Regions from separate parts of the Homo sapiens genome. Here regions 2, 3, 4 and 5 are each linked to region 1. Evidence: promoter capture Hi-C in 16 types of primary human blood cells and fetal thymus (Javierre and others, 2016). All regions are on one chromosome and are shown on one strand. Each heading gives the region's core, a stretch centred on a gene start or on the middle of the fragment in contact. The rest is flanking DNA. Distances are from core to core; before and after follow the strand shown.

Evidence for each region. The method cuts DNA at HindIII sites, captures the fragments that hold promoters and counts their contacts. A CHiCAGO score of 5 or more calls a contact.
Region 2: a contact is called between a fragment that was not itself captured here and the fragment with the promoter of CRYL1 in region 1, in 1 of 17 cell types (M2 macrophages). The highest score is 5.1, in M2 macrophages.
Region 3: a contact is called between a fragment that was not itself captured here and the fragment with the promoter of CRYL1 in region 1, in 4 of 17 cell types (M1 macrophages, M2 macrophages, endothelial precursors and 1 more). The highest score is 6.2, in M1 macrophages.
Region 4: a fragment that was not itself captured here is called in contact with the fragment with the promoter of CRYL1 in region 1 in 15 of 17 cell types (endothelial precursors, megakaryocytes, M2 macrophages and 12 more); the score reaches 14.1 in endothelial precursors.
Region 5: a fragment that was not itself captured here is called in contact with the fragment with the promoter of CRYL1 in region 1 in 1 of 17 cell types (M2 macrophages); the score reaches 5.2 in M2 macrophages.

The regions. Positions count from the first base shown.
Region 1 is chr13:20,524,595-20,527,126 of GRCh38, reverse strand. It overlaps CRYL1 (crystallin lambda 1), which reads left to right and starts at 1,270. Exons shown (of 8, transcript NM_015974.3): 1 at 1,270-1,373. The coding sequence starts at 1,333. RefSeq lists an enhancer at 755-864 and a silencer at 1,045-1,594. The HindIII fragment of the contact is 5,179 bases long and covers 323-2,532 here.
Region 2 is chr13:20,750,973-20,753,504 of GRCh38, reverse strand. The region is part of intron 2 of EEF1AKMT1 (EEF1A lysine methyltransferase 1); the gene reads left to right. Among named protein-coding and RNA genes, the nearest start is that of EEF1AKMT1, 22 kb to the left of the region's middle. The HindIII fragment of the contact is 4,519 bases long and covers 1-2,532 here.
Region 3 is chr13:20,723,658-20,726,189 of GRCh38, reverse strand. No RefSeq gene overlaps it. Among named protein-coding and RNA genes, the nearest start is that of IL17D, 21 kb to the right of the region's middle. The HindIII fragment of the contact is 1,018 bases long and covers 761-1,778 here.
Region 4 is chr13:20,704,868-20,707,399 of GRCh38, reverse strand. The region is part of intron 1 of IL17D (interleukin 17D); the gene reads right to left. Among named protein-coding and RNA genes, the nearest start is that of IL17D, 2.4 kb to the right of the region's middle. The HindIII fragment of the contact is 7,364 bases long and covers 1-2,532 here.
Region 5 is chr13:20,674,870-20,677,401 of GRCh38, reverse strand. All of the region lies in intron 24 of IFT88 (intraflagellar transport 88), which reads right to left. Among named protein-coding and RNA genes, the nearest start is that of IL17D, 28 kb to the left of the region's middle. The HindIII fragment of the contact is 3,313 bases long and covers 1-2,532 here.

The DNA.
Region 1 (2,532 bases), core at 21-2,520:
AACTCCTGGCCTCAAGCTATTATTTACTACTCAGCTTCCCAAAGCGCTGGGATTTCAGGCATGACTTTGCAGGGAGCAGCAAACAAGCCAGTCTGCTGCCCCCATAGCCTCCGGTAGTGAGCAGTCACAGGATGCTCACTCCCTGGGTGCCTTGATTATTATATTGGCTGCCTGTGTAACTGACTACAGAAACTGCTCCATCAGAAGATGGAAGCTTTGGAGCCTTGTATTCTCAGCCAGAGCAGGCGCGGTTGCTCAGGCTAGCGGCTGTCTCAACAATGTACTGTAACATTCCCTCCAAAAAGTCCTCAACATTTAAGCTTGCCTTCTACTGTGTGTAAGTTGCATGTCCGAAACACTCCATTACGGATATGGGAATATAATCAATCCATGTGACTTAGCCAATCTGATGAGTGAGAGATGACTTATCTTCCTTGTGTTACTTTTCATTTCTCTTGAGGTTGAATACTTTACAAATATTTATCGATAATTTGTGAAACTGTTCTTTAAAAAACAAAACAAAACAAAAAAACCTAACCCCTCCCCTGAGATTTCTCTTTCCACGTTCCTGACTCAGGGGAAACAAAGGAAGACTTCCTTTTATCATCTCAGTGTTGGCTGCGGTTCCAGCTTGAGTACTGTCTCCTCTGTCTAATGACTGTGTCATTTCCCGTTCAGCTTGTGCTGTGTGGACGCACACCACTGTCAGGCAATGTGTGATGCCCCTTCCTCTTGGTCTGTTCCGGGCTCCAAGAAGGCCAGGAGTCAGGGCACGAGGGCATTTCCTTTTTCTGATACATAAACCGAGTGCAGAGTGTGCTCCGTGGAGGAATTCAGACGTGTCCTTCCGTAGCGCAGATGAACGCATCAGGTGTTCTCTTTCACTGCTGTCGCAGTCCCTGCGCCCAGTTCGCAGTTGGCGGCAGCGGCAGGCGTCTTTCAGAGACGAATTAGCAAAGGGGACATTCTCTGACAGTTTCTCTAGGGTGCTTTAGCGCTAGAGCCCGTGCCAGCCTGCCCGTGTCCCCTCCTATAGACACGGACTTCACGGTGAATGCTGACAGTCACAAGCGCGTGGTCTTCCCGCTTTCCACCCCCCGACGTGCCCCCGCGCTGGTCCTGCCCCTGCCCACGAGGGTCGGCGCGCCGTGTGTCTCCCGGTGTCTCGGGCCCGCGGCGCGCACCCCACTCAGGGACCAAGCGGCCCTCCCCGCCCTCCCGGTCCGCGCGCGCAGCCAATGGGCGCGGGACCCGCCCTCCCCGGAGCCCAGAGCTCGCAGCTCCGCCGGCGCCTGGTCCCAGCGCCCGCGGCGCCGCGTCCCCGGCCCAACCATGGCGTCCTCCGCGGCCGGCTGCGTGGTGATCGTTGGCAGGTAAAGGGCTCCGAGCCGCGCTGCTGCCCCTGGAGCCCGGGGAGACGCCGGGGACGTGGTGCCCTCGCGTGGGGCCCTCGGGGTGGGCGCCGGGTCGCTGTCCCCGCCCCGGCCTCCGGTCCTCCGAAGCCCTGCGCCCTGCGGCCCCTACGGCGCTGGCGGGCTCGGGGAGAGGCGCGGCTGGAGGGGCTTGGCAGGTGGAGGCGCCCCGCGGAGTTGGGTCTGCTTCCCGGGAGCCAGCGTTGCAGGAGGTTCCGAGGTTGACCGCCCAGGCCGCGGGGCCTGCGGTTCCTGGACTCTGTTGAATGTCGCCGCGTCTGCCCGCAGGTCCACATAGAAGTGCCAGGCACCGTGTTGAATGAAACGAATTCTGGCTGCGATCCTGCGACGACTGTGTTCTCATCCCCATTTTACGAATGAGAATACTGAGACTAAGCAGTTTACCTAAGGTCACAGGCGTTTAGTGACGGAGACAGGACTAGCCCAGCAGGGAGGGTGCCAGCGCAGTCCTGTCGGCGACGATGTCGCTGGAGGCCGCAGCAGGTGTTAGGCGAACATACACGCAGTCCTAATTCCTGGGCGAGGCGATGTTTCCAGAGGGGAGGTGGGGGCCGATGGAGCCCAGAGAGTTTGCTAAGTGTGTCCATTTAACAGCTTAAATTCTGCCCAAACTGATTTTTAGTGTGTGCTTCCCCCACCCCGCCCCCCACCCCTACGGTTACAATCCTTGCTATTTTTGTTTTTTAAAAAGGGGCATTTGTATGTACCTTTCTTTGGCCAGCTGTTAGCAGCAATCTATAAACATGTTAATACTTGCTATTGATAGTTAAAAGCACCTTTTTGGTGACTGCTGTTGAGGTGTTGGCCTGCCCCCGACTCCGCCCCCCATCAGTGTACAACCCGGTGTGGAGACCACTTCCAATGTCAGGGTGTTTCCTTCCCACTGAAGGAAGGCATCAGATTCCTTGTTGTCAGCTTTCTTTTCTCCAGAGCAGTGGAGTTAACTGTGCCTTTGTTCTTTCTGGCCCATGAGTGCCCGTGGTTGAATAGTGAAGGCATATTAAAAAGTGCACTTTGGGCCGCGCGCGGTGGCTCACCCCTGTAATCCCAGCACGTTGGGAGGCCGAGGCAGGCGGATCATCTGAGGTCGGGAGTTCGA
Region 2 (2,532 bases), core at 17-2,516, 230 kb before region 1:
CATCTACATAGAAAATTAACAAAGAAACATTGTATTTAAACTGCACTTTAGACCAATGGACTTAAGAGACGTTTGTAGAACATAGCATCCAACAGCTACAGAATATGCATTCTTCTCATCATCACATGGAACCTTCTCCAGTTCCATGTGGTTATGTTTGGACAGAAAACAAGTCTCAACAATTTTTGAAAAATTGAAATGTCAGATATCTTCTCAGGTCATAACACAATAAAACTAGAAATCAATAACAGGAGAAACTTTGGAAACTAAAAATACAGGGAATTTAAATATGCTCCTGAATGATCATTAGGTCAGGGATGAAATTAAAGAGGAAGTCCAAAAATTTCCTGAAACAATGGAAAATCAAAACACAACATACCGAAATCTATGGAATACAGCAAAAACAGTGCTAAGAGTGAAGTTTATAGCAATAAAAATCTACATCTAGAAAGTAGGAAGGTTTCAAATAAATAATCTAACAATGCACCTTAAGAAACTAGAAAAGCAAGAACAAACCAGTCCCAAAATGAGTAGAAGGAAAGAAATAATGAAGAGCAGACAGAACCAAACAAAATGCAGAATAAAAAATATTCAATGGATCAATGAAAAGTTGGCTTTTTGAAAACATAGGGAAAACCAGTAAACTACTAGCTAGACTAACCAAGAAAAAAAAACAAAAGACAAAAATAAATAAAATCAGAAATAAAGGGGACATTACAACTGAAGTCCAGGACCAGATGACTTTACTGCTGAATTCTACCAAACTTAAAAAGAATAATCAATACCAATTATCTTTAAATTATTCCAGAAGTTTGAAGTGGAGAGAATTCTCCCTAATTCATTCTATGAGGCCAGCATTATCCTGACACCAAAACCAGACAATAATGTAAGAAATAAAGAAAATTACAGGCCAGTATCCCAGATGAATATAGACACAAAAGTCCTCAACAAAATACTAGTAAATAGAACCCAATAGTACATCAAAAAAAATTACACCATGATTAAGTGGGATTTATCCTGGAGATTCAAGGAAGGTTCAACACCTGCAAATCAACAAACATAATACACCACATCAACAGACTGAAGGACAAATGTTATATGATCATCTCAATAGCTGCAGAAAAAGCATTTTAAAAAATTCAACATCCCTTCATGATAAAAACTCTCAACAAACTAGGCATAAAGGAACATACCTCATCATAATAAAGGCTATATATGATAAACCCACAGCTAACATCATACTGAATGGGGAAAAGCTGAAAGTCTTTCCTCTAAGATCAGGAATAAGATAAGCATGCCCACTTCCACCACTGCTATTTAACATAGTACTGGAAGTCCTAACTAGGACAATCGGGCAACAAAAAGAAATAAAAAGCATCTAAATTGGAAAAGAGGAAGTCAAATTGTCCCTCTTTATAGATGACATGACATGATCTTACACCTAGAGAAACCTAAAGACTCCAGGAAAAAACTTTTAGATCTTATAAATTCAATAAGATTGCAGGATACAAAATCAACATACAAAAATCAGTAGCATTTCCATACACCAGTAATGAACTAGCTGAGAAAGAAATCGAGAAGGCAATCCTGTTTACAATAGCTACAAAAAAAAGAAATACCTAGTAATAAATTTAACCAAGGAGGTGAAAGGTGTCTACAAGGAAGACTACAAAACTCTGAGGAAAGAAATTGAAGACACCAACAAATGGAAAGACATCCCGTGCTCACGGATTGAAAGAATAATCGTAGTTAAAATGATTATACCCAAAGCAATGTATATATCCAGTACAATCCCTATCAATACTAATGTCATTTTTCACAGAAAAAAAAAAGTCCTGAAATTCCTGTGGAACCCAAAAACAGCCTGAATGGCCAAAGCAATCCTGAGCGAATAGAACAAGGGTGGAGGCATCACACTACCTGAGTTCAAATGATGTTACAAGGCTGTAGTAACCAAAACAGCATGGTATCGGTATTACAACAGACACATAGACCAATGGAACAGAATAGAGAACCCAGAAATTAATCCACATATCTATAGCCAACTGATTTTTGACAAAGGTGCCAAGGGGAAAGGACACCTCTTCAATAAATGGTGCTAGAAATATTAGATATCCATATGCAGAAGAATGAAACAGGACCCCTATCTCTCACCATATGCAAAAGTCAACTCAAGATGGATTAGACGTAAGCATATATCCTGAAACTATAAAACTTCTAGACAAAAACATAAGGGACACACTTCAGAACGTTGGTCTAGGCAAAGATTTCATGGCTAAGACCTCAAAAGCACAAGAAACAAAAATAGACAAATGGGACTCTATGATATTTAAATGCTTCTACACAGCAAAGGAAACAATCAGCAGAATGGAGAGGCAACCCATTGAGATGTGTAAAATATTTGAAAACTATTCATCTGACAAGGGACTCGTATCTAGAATATATAAGAAACTCAACTAAAATTTCAAAACCAAATAATCCCATTAAAATGGGCAAAGGACCTGAATAGACATTTCTCAAAAGAAGACATAC
Region 3 (2,532 bases), core at 20-2,519, 200 kb before region 1:
AACAAAATTCCAGCACTTCTCAGAAACTCTTCAGATGCGTGTCTGGGGTGAGGAGGGCCTGAACAGCAAGAAGAGATGAAAGGCAGGGGGAACTTTAAGACCCCATTTCAGATGGGGGTTCTGTACTCTTTCTCCTTTCATTCCTTCCTAAAATCAGAGCTGGCACCAGTTACTAAAAATGACCATTTCCCCCCTTTGCCCTGCTGGAAGAGATGCGGTAAGACATAATGAGATAACTGGCCCCTGACTGTGGAACTGTTGGTATTTGCAGAGTGTTTTTGGATTTCTGTTCCCAAATGATTCCATTTTTGTAGAACAAGTATATAATTGAAATACTGTCAGTTGGAAACGATCTTCAGTAACCAGCAAAGCACCTCCATTCCAAAGGTTGCCACAGAATCCTCCAGGTAGAATTCATGTGAAGGAAACATGCACTTTTCTGGGAGGAGGGGAAGAAGCTCTGAAATGTACAATATCATGTGTTGCCCCTCCACAAATCCTGGGAATGAAAGGCATGGAGGGAAATGTGTGAAATAAACCAAGTGGATCTGGGAGCAGGGAGGGAGATGTCACTGAACTTTGGCTGGCACAGTTTATCTAGCCAGTAAACCTCCTTATTTGTTTGATAAAACACAATACCAACCTCCCATCTCTGCAACACCCCCCCCCCCACCAAAAAAAACCCTTCAGTTTTAGCAAGAGAAAAAAATTTTGTCCCAAGAAGATCTTGTTATTCATTGAAACAGTACCTTCCCAAGCTTAGCCACCACCTCTAATTTCAACATACTGTATTTAAATGCTGCTGCCCAGTTAAAGTTCTAGATTTTGTTTTATTTGTTTATTATTTTACTTGTCAGTTATTATTATTATTATTTGAGATGGAGTCTTGCTCTGTCACCCAGGCTGGAGTGCAGTGGCACGATCTCAGCTCACTGCAATCCCCGCCTCCTGGGTTCAAGCGATTCTCCTGTCTCACTCAGCCTCCTGAGTAGCTGGGATTACAGGCGCCCACCACTGCGCCTGCTAATTTTTGTATTTTTAGTAGAGACAGGGTTTTTGTATTTTTAGTAGAGACCATCTTGGCCAGGCTGGTCTCAAACTCCTGACCTCGTGATCCACCCGCCTTGGCCTCCCAAAGTGCTGGGATTACAGGCGTGAGCCACCGTGCCCAGCCTTTTTTTTTTTTTTTTTGAGATGGAGTTTCACTCTTGTTTTCCAGGCTGGAGTGCAATGGCATGATCTCGGCTCACTGCAACCTCTGCCTCCTGGGTTCAAGTGATTCTCCTGCCTCAGCCTCCCAAGTAGCTGGGATTACAGTTGCGCGCCACCACGCCCAGCTAATTTTTTTGTATTTTTGGTAGAGATGGGGTTTCACCATGTTGGTCAGGCTGGTCTCCAACTCCTGACCTCAGGTGATCCACCCACCTCAGCCTCCCAAAGTGCTGGGGTTACAGGTATAAGCCACTGCACCCGGCCCAGCGATTTCATTTTAAACTTACCTTTCATACAAAAAAAAAAGTCACTTGTAAGTGACAGATGCCTCCTAAAGCGACATAACAAGTGACTTTTTTTTGGTATAAAAGATAAGTTTAAAATGCAGAAGGCTTAGCTTGATGTTTATTTTCAATGTGGCTTATGAATGACTGCAGTGCAATGATGTGTCCCTGTCCACACGTGTTCATGTGTGCCAGGCACTGTGCCAGGCACTTTACCAACAGTGTTGAATCCTCACAGGGTGGGCGCTGTGACCTCATTTCACACGGAAGGAAAATGAAGCTTAGTGAGGTGAAGGGAGCAGGTTCATAGAGCGGCACTCAGGTGCGAGGCGCTTGAGCAGCTTTGCCATTTCATCATTTTAGTGGAGGAGGGAGGCTGTCTCGCTTACTGCCGCCTTGCAGGAGCTGGGTGACTAGAACCAGGCAGGTGCCCAGTAGATAGTCACTAAGCGGATGAATGTACGGTACAGAGAAAAAACACAGGCTGCCTTTCTCGATCTTCAAATGGAAAGCTCATTTCTTCTGTTAGGAATGTGCTACCTTTTAGCAAGCTGAGGTTAAACTAATAATTAATGCAGTGAATAAAATCATGACATTTTCCCCATGCAGATAGTTTCCTCTCCTTGTGTGCCCTTCCTCCAACGCTTGCACTGTTTATATTTGAGGAGTGACCTGGAAAGTGTTACACAACAGCAGCGATGACGGAAAACACACCTAAGTTGCTGCTTTAAAAGGCAGTTCTGGGCCAGGCGCGGTGGCTCACGCCTGTAATCCCAGCACTCTGGGAGGCCGAGGCGGGCGGATCACGAGGTCAGGAGATCGAGACCATCCTGGCTAACACGGTGAAACCCCGTCTCTACTAAAAATACAAAAAACTAGCCGGGCGAGGTGGCGGGCGCCTGTAGTCCCAGCTACTCGGGAGGCTGAGGCAGCAGAATGGCATGAACCCGGGAGGCGGAGCTTGCAGTGAGCCGAGATCGCGCCACTGCACTCCAGCCTGGGCAACAGAGTGAGACTCCGACTCAAAAAAAAAAAA
Region 4 (2,532 bases), core at 14-2,513, 180 kb before region 1:
GCACAATCATAGTTCACTACAGCCTCAGCCTCCCTGGCTCAAACTTCCCAAGTAGCTGGGACCACAGGCAAACATGACCACACCTGGCTGTTTTTTTTGTAGTGATAAGTCTCATACTATGTTGCCCAGGCTGGTCTCAAACTCCTGGGCTCAAGTGATCCTCCCACCTCCGCCTCCTGAGTAGCCGGGGATTTACAGGTGAGCCACTGGGCCTGGCTGGGTCTCACTTTTTCTAATCTTCCCAATAACCCAAAAGATGGTGAGAGGTGATTGGAGGGAGGAGGGCAGAGAGGGCTCTCCTGGCAGGAAAATGCAGGAGCAGCTTTGGCAGTCAGCAATCTGGAGTCCCAGCCCAGCAGCCATCCCCTGAAGACTGTCCTTCCTTCAGCAAATATAAGCCACCCACCTCCGTTTGCCCATGGGGAGTGATCTCATCACTGTTGCTAAATAATATGAAAAATGATGCACATGACACCTTCAGCCACCCTGCTGCAGCTGCCACTCCTGCTCCTGGGACCACCCAGCACTGAGGTTCCACATGTGGGCAGATCTGGGTGGCCCAGACCACGATCCCCGAACCCTGTGTGTCATTCTCATCCATAACCTCCCTCGGCTCCCAGATCCTGCCTGGGGCGACATAGGTGTCATCTGTAGCAAGGGCAACTCAATTTAACTTCCCACACACAGAATGCCAGTGCTGCTAACTCTCCATGTGTCCTCCAGCCCTGCTCTGTCTCCTGAGCTCCAACCAGTCATTGTCACCTGTACGCCTTTCAGGCAGGCAAAACTCAACAGGCTTGTTACTAAATTCATTATTTCCTCCCACAACACTTGTTCCTAAGTGTATTTTCTCATTTTGCTCAAATACCATCAACAACCCAAGCCAGAAACATGAGAGACATGCCTTTGGGAGGCTATATACTACTCTTAGGCCCTTGGCCCAGCCTGTGGGGAGCCACGGGTTTGCCTGAGAGTTCGAATCTGCTATAGAAAGCAGGGCCAGCAGCTTCTGTCCAGAGAAGTTAATCTCTGGTTCTGAGAGATTCCTTATGTGGCTTTAATCCTATTTGGTATATCAGAAGCATAACACGAGGTTAGAGAAAGAAGAATGCCGTAGTCCATCCCTTCAGGTCCTGGAAATGGAGGAAGAGAGAGGAAAAGCAAGAGCACCAAGATACCAGAATGAATGGCGCCATGTGTGTGCCCTGCAGGCTCCAGCTGAAGGACAGGAGTGAGAAGGGCGGGAGGGGTCCCACCCAACTTCCCCGTGGGCAGGGGCTCTGAGGGGGCTCTGCCACAGTGAGCTTGGTCCTCTGCAGAGTAGCCAGGAGGCAGGAGGCCCTAAAACTTGGCTTCCCAGGACAGCATAGGGGTCCTGTGTGTTGTTGAGTAAAAGGAAATCTCCCTACCCAGCAGCCGGCAGGGAGAGGCTCCAGGAAAGCCCAGATGCGTTTTAGACAAAATCATCACATTTCCTCTGACTCTCCACAGCACTTGTCTTCTTTAATGAGCATCTTTCACGCTGATCCTAGTCTCCCCTTCCCACCGCGCTGCCTGAGTGAAGCCCTAGATCCTTTGGATGGAAGTGCTGGAGAGCATTGTCCAATCCATGCCCCATTGGGACACCCTCCTAAACCAGAGTGGCTGTATGGCTTCCTCCATCTCAAGTGTCAAGACTTTTTTTCTCTTTAATTTTTATTTTAGAGACGGGGTCTCGCTTTGTCACGCAGGTTGGAAGGCAGTGGCGCCACCACAGCTCACTGCAGCCTGAACCTCCCGGGCTCAATCTATCCTCCCACTTAAGCCTCTGGAGTAGCTGGGACCACAGGCACGTGCCACCACACTTCGCTAATCCTTAAAAATTGTTTGCAGAAATGGGATCTCGCTATGTTTCCCAGGCTGGTCTCGAACTCCTGGACTTAAATCCTCCTGCCTCGGCCTCCCAAAGTGCTGGGATTCCAGGCGTGAGGGTGAAGCTCTGCACTGCTGACAAGGCGGGGATCCAGCTCCTGCACCTGTCTCCAGCCTTACATCGATGCCCACCCCACAGGCAAACACCTCGCCTACGCCCCCCCACCCCCACCGCCCCCGCTCGCCTTGTGGCTCTCCCCATTTTCCAAGCGCTTTGTTCCCGCTTGCTATCAGCTGTCCCTTCCCTCAGCACTGCCTTTGTAGGCGACTTGCTCTCCTCCATCAAGACTCAGCTCTTTCACGAAGCCTTTCTTGACCTCTGTGGCCCTGGGAGGCCTTGCCCCCTAGGGCAGCTCCTCCTGCTCCAGCTAGAGGGAAGACGGTCACAGGTGCCTGCTGAGGACACTGCGGCACCCTGCCTACACGCCCCCAACTTCTCCAGCCTTCCCCTTCTGCAGGCTGTCCCTTTCTTCTGAAATGACCTCTGTTCCAAGACCAAAATACTCTCGAAACTGTTCATGTCACTTCATGCACTGCCTGATGGTGTGGTTTCTTTCCCAATTATCCCCACTCCTTCCTTAGGCTATTAAACTAGAGGGGCTCAGAGGGCGCTTCCCAGGG
Region 5 (2,532 bases), core at 33-2,532, 150 kb before region 1:
TAATTTTACAAGGACCATTGCTTGGACCTAGCCTTACTCTGAGAATTTCAGCTCATTCTTACATTGTTACAGCTGCAATTCTCAGTTTGATTTCAACCCTCACCCCCTACTTCTATTGATCCCATTACATTATTACCCAACAAAACCTAACAGGAATATATTAAAATTGTAAAAATGAACGCCGATAGCTACTGTATAGGCAATACTCAAGTGAGGAGAGGGAGACTCTGGAGGGACTCAGTGAAGAGAACAAAGGAGGTAACATTATATATTTGTTATGTGGCAAACTTAAATACTTAATACCTAGCATATAAAGAGGATATGAGAGGTGAAGCTGGAAGAATGTTGGTATTTACTGAGTACTTATTATGGCTAGAAAACGTGAGAAAATGCTTATCTGTAGATAAAACAGCAGAAAGGTAGGAAGGGAAAGAGGGTAAAAACTCATAAAATGTGTGTTTGTATGTATGAGCACACACGTATATATAAAATACATGTGTATATATTTTACAGATAGGATATATGCATGCATATATATGTGTGTATGCATATATATGTATGTATGTGCATATGTATTTTGTAAAAGTTTTGGATTCAATTTCCTGTGCTTTTTGTAACTTGCCTCTGCAGGCAATTATAAAAAAGGAGTTTCACAAATGTTTTGATTAACAGCAGCATTACTGAAGTAAATATTCAGCTTTCCAAATTGGTAACTTCAAGAACCAACATTTATTTTTATTTATAAGCACTAGTAATTCTTGTTTAAAAAAACAAAATTCAACTCAACAGTGAGACAGGGGTACACTTGGTTACACTGCATGGATAAACATGACCCTCTTGTGTTAGGGAGAAACTGAGGCTCTCACACTCAGAGGTCACACACTGGCAGTGGTGAGAACATGGGCGCTGGCAGTGCAGTGGACACTGGTATTCCAGGCCCTGCCCATGCACTCCCTTTGTCAGGCGGGAGTCACAGTAGCCATGCTCACCCTTGCACATGCTTGCCCTTATCAGGAGTTTCTCTAAGAGCTTTCCACATGAGCCCATTTCCTCCTCAGCAACCCTATCAGGAAGGTACTGTTTTCAGTCTCATTTTACTGATGAGGAAACTGTGACAAAGAGATTTAAGTAACTTGTTCACATAAGATGTGATGAGTTCAGGAAGGTGGTCCATGGATGTTGAATGAATGCCAGGAATGGGATTATGACAAGGACTGAAAACTCAGGGCAACAGGCTAAGGGCGAGAGTTAAGGAGCATGTTCTGTTGAAGATACAAAATCTCATCATATGCTCTGTGATGTGTGTTGACTTAGTAAGGTGGGTGAGTTGTAAACAACTAAGGTGGTTTTAAGAGAAGTTCACTGATACAGACTTTTACTGTTCAAGCTGTATACCAGGATGAAATGGCTTCAAGCAGTGCTTTGATCAAAAGGATAATTCCCAGGCCCCACCTGTCATTACCAAAAGTATTCATGGAGACTTTGGCTTAGAGCAGGGATTAGCAAACTACAGTGTGTGGGCCAAATCTGGCCCACCCTATTTTTGTCTATCCAGCAAGCTAATGATTTGTACATTTTAAAATGGTTAGGAAGAAAAGCAAACAATAATAATATTTTGTGACATATAAAACTCATATAACATTCTAACTTCAGTGTCCAAGAATTAAGTTTTATAGAACACTATCACATTTATTCACTTACACGCTGTGTACAGCTGCTTTCAATACACAACAGCAGAGTGGAATATTCTCGGTAGATGAGACTTGGCCTGCAAGCCTAAACTATTTACTACCTGGCCCTTTACAGAAAAAGTCTGCACACCCCAAATTACTGAGAATTACTGTATCAGAACACAGACGACACATTGGCAGGTTACACCAGCTGGGTATACTGGCATAGGCAAACTTTTTCTGGAACTGTAACACTGAGACTACTTTGGTGCTCTGGTGCTGTTCACTATCTTCTAATACTTATTATTCATCAAGATTCCTTTGTGATACATACCGTATACAAAGTGGGCTGGATACTCGGGTATCCTGCAAAACTGTGGTCTAGATTTATGGGGTAAAGGGACATGCAAGTTGGGACTGAGGCTGACAGGCATGATCCTTAGAGAAGTGACAGCACCCGCCCCCCGGCCTCTCAAGACTCCCTCCCCACATAGATGTCCAGCAATTCCTTCTGTAATTGGCTGACTTGTGTCGGCCTGTCCTCTACATTTAGGCCTATGCACCTCCTCAGAGCGTACACTCCTTGTCTCGTCCTCCCTTGTGGGCACTGAGCATGACTTGTTCATTCTCTGCTTGTGACACCATCAGGCCCCAGCAAAACTGTGGAAAGGTGTTAATTAGCCATGCTCAAACTTGGACTAGAATATTAAAATATAACTGGCCAGGCGCGGTGGCTCAAGCCTGTAATCCCAGCACTTTGGGAGGCTGAGGCGGGTGGATCACGAGGTCAGGAGATCGAGACCATCCCGGCTAACATGGTGAAACCCCATCTCTACTAAAAATACCCAAAATTAGCCGGGCG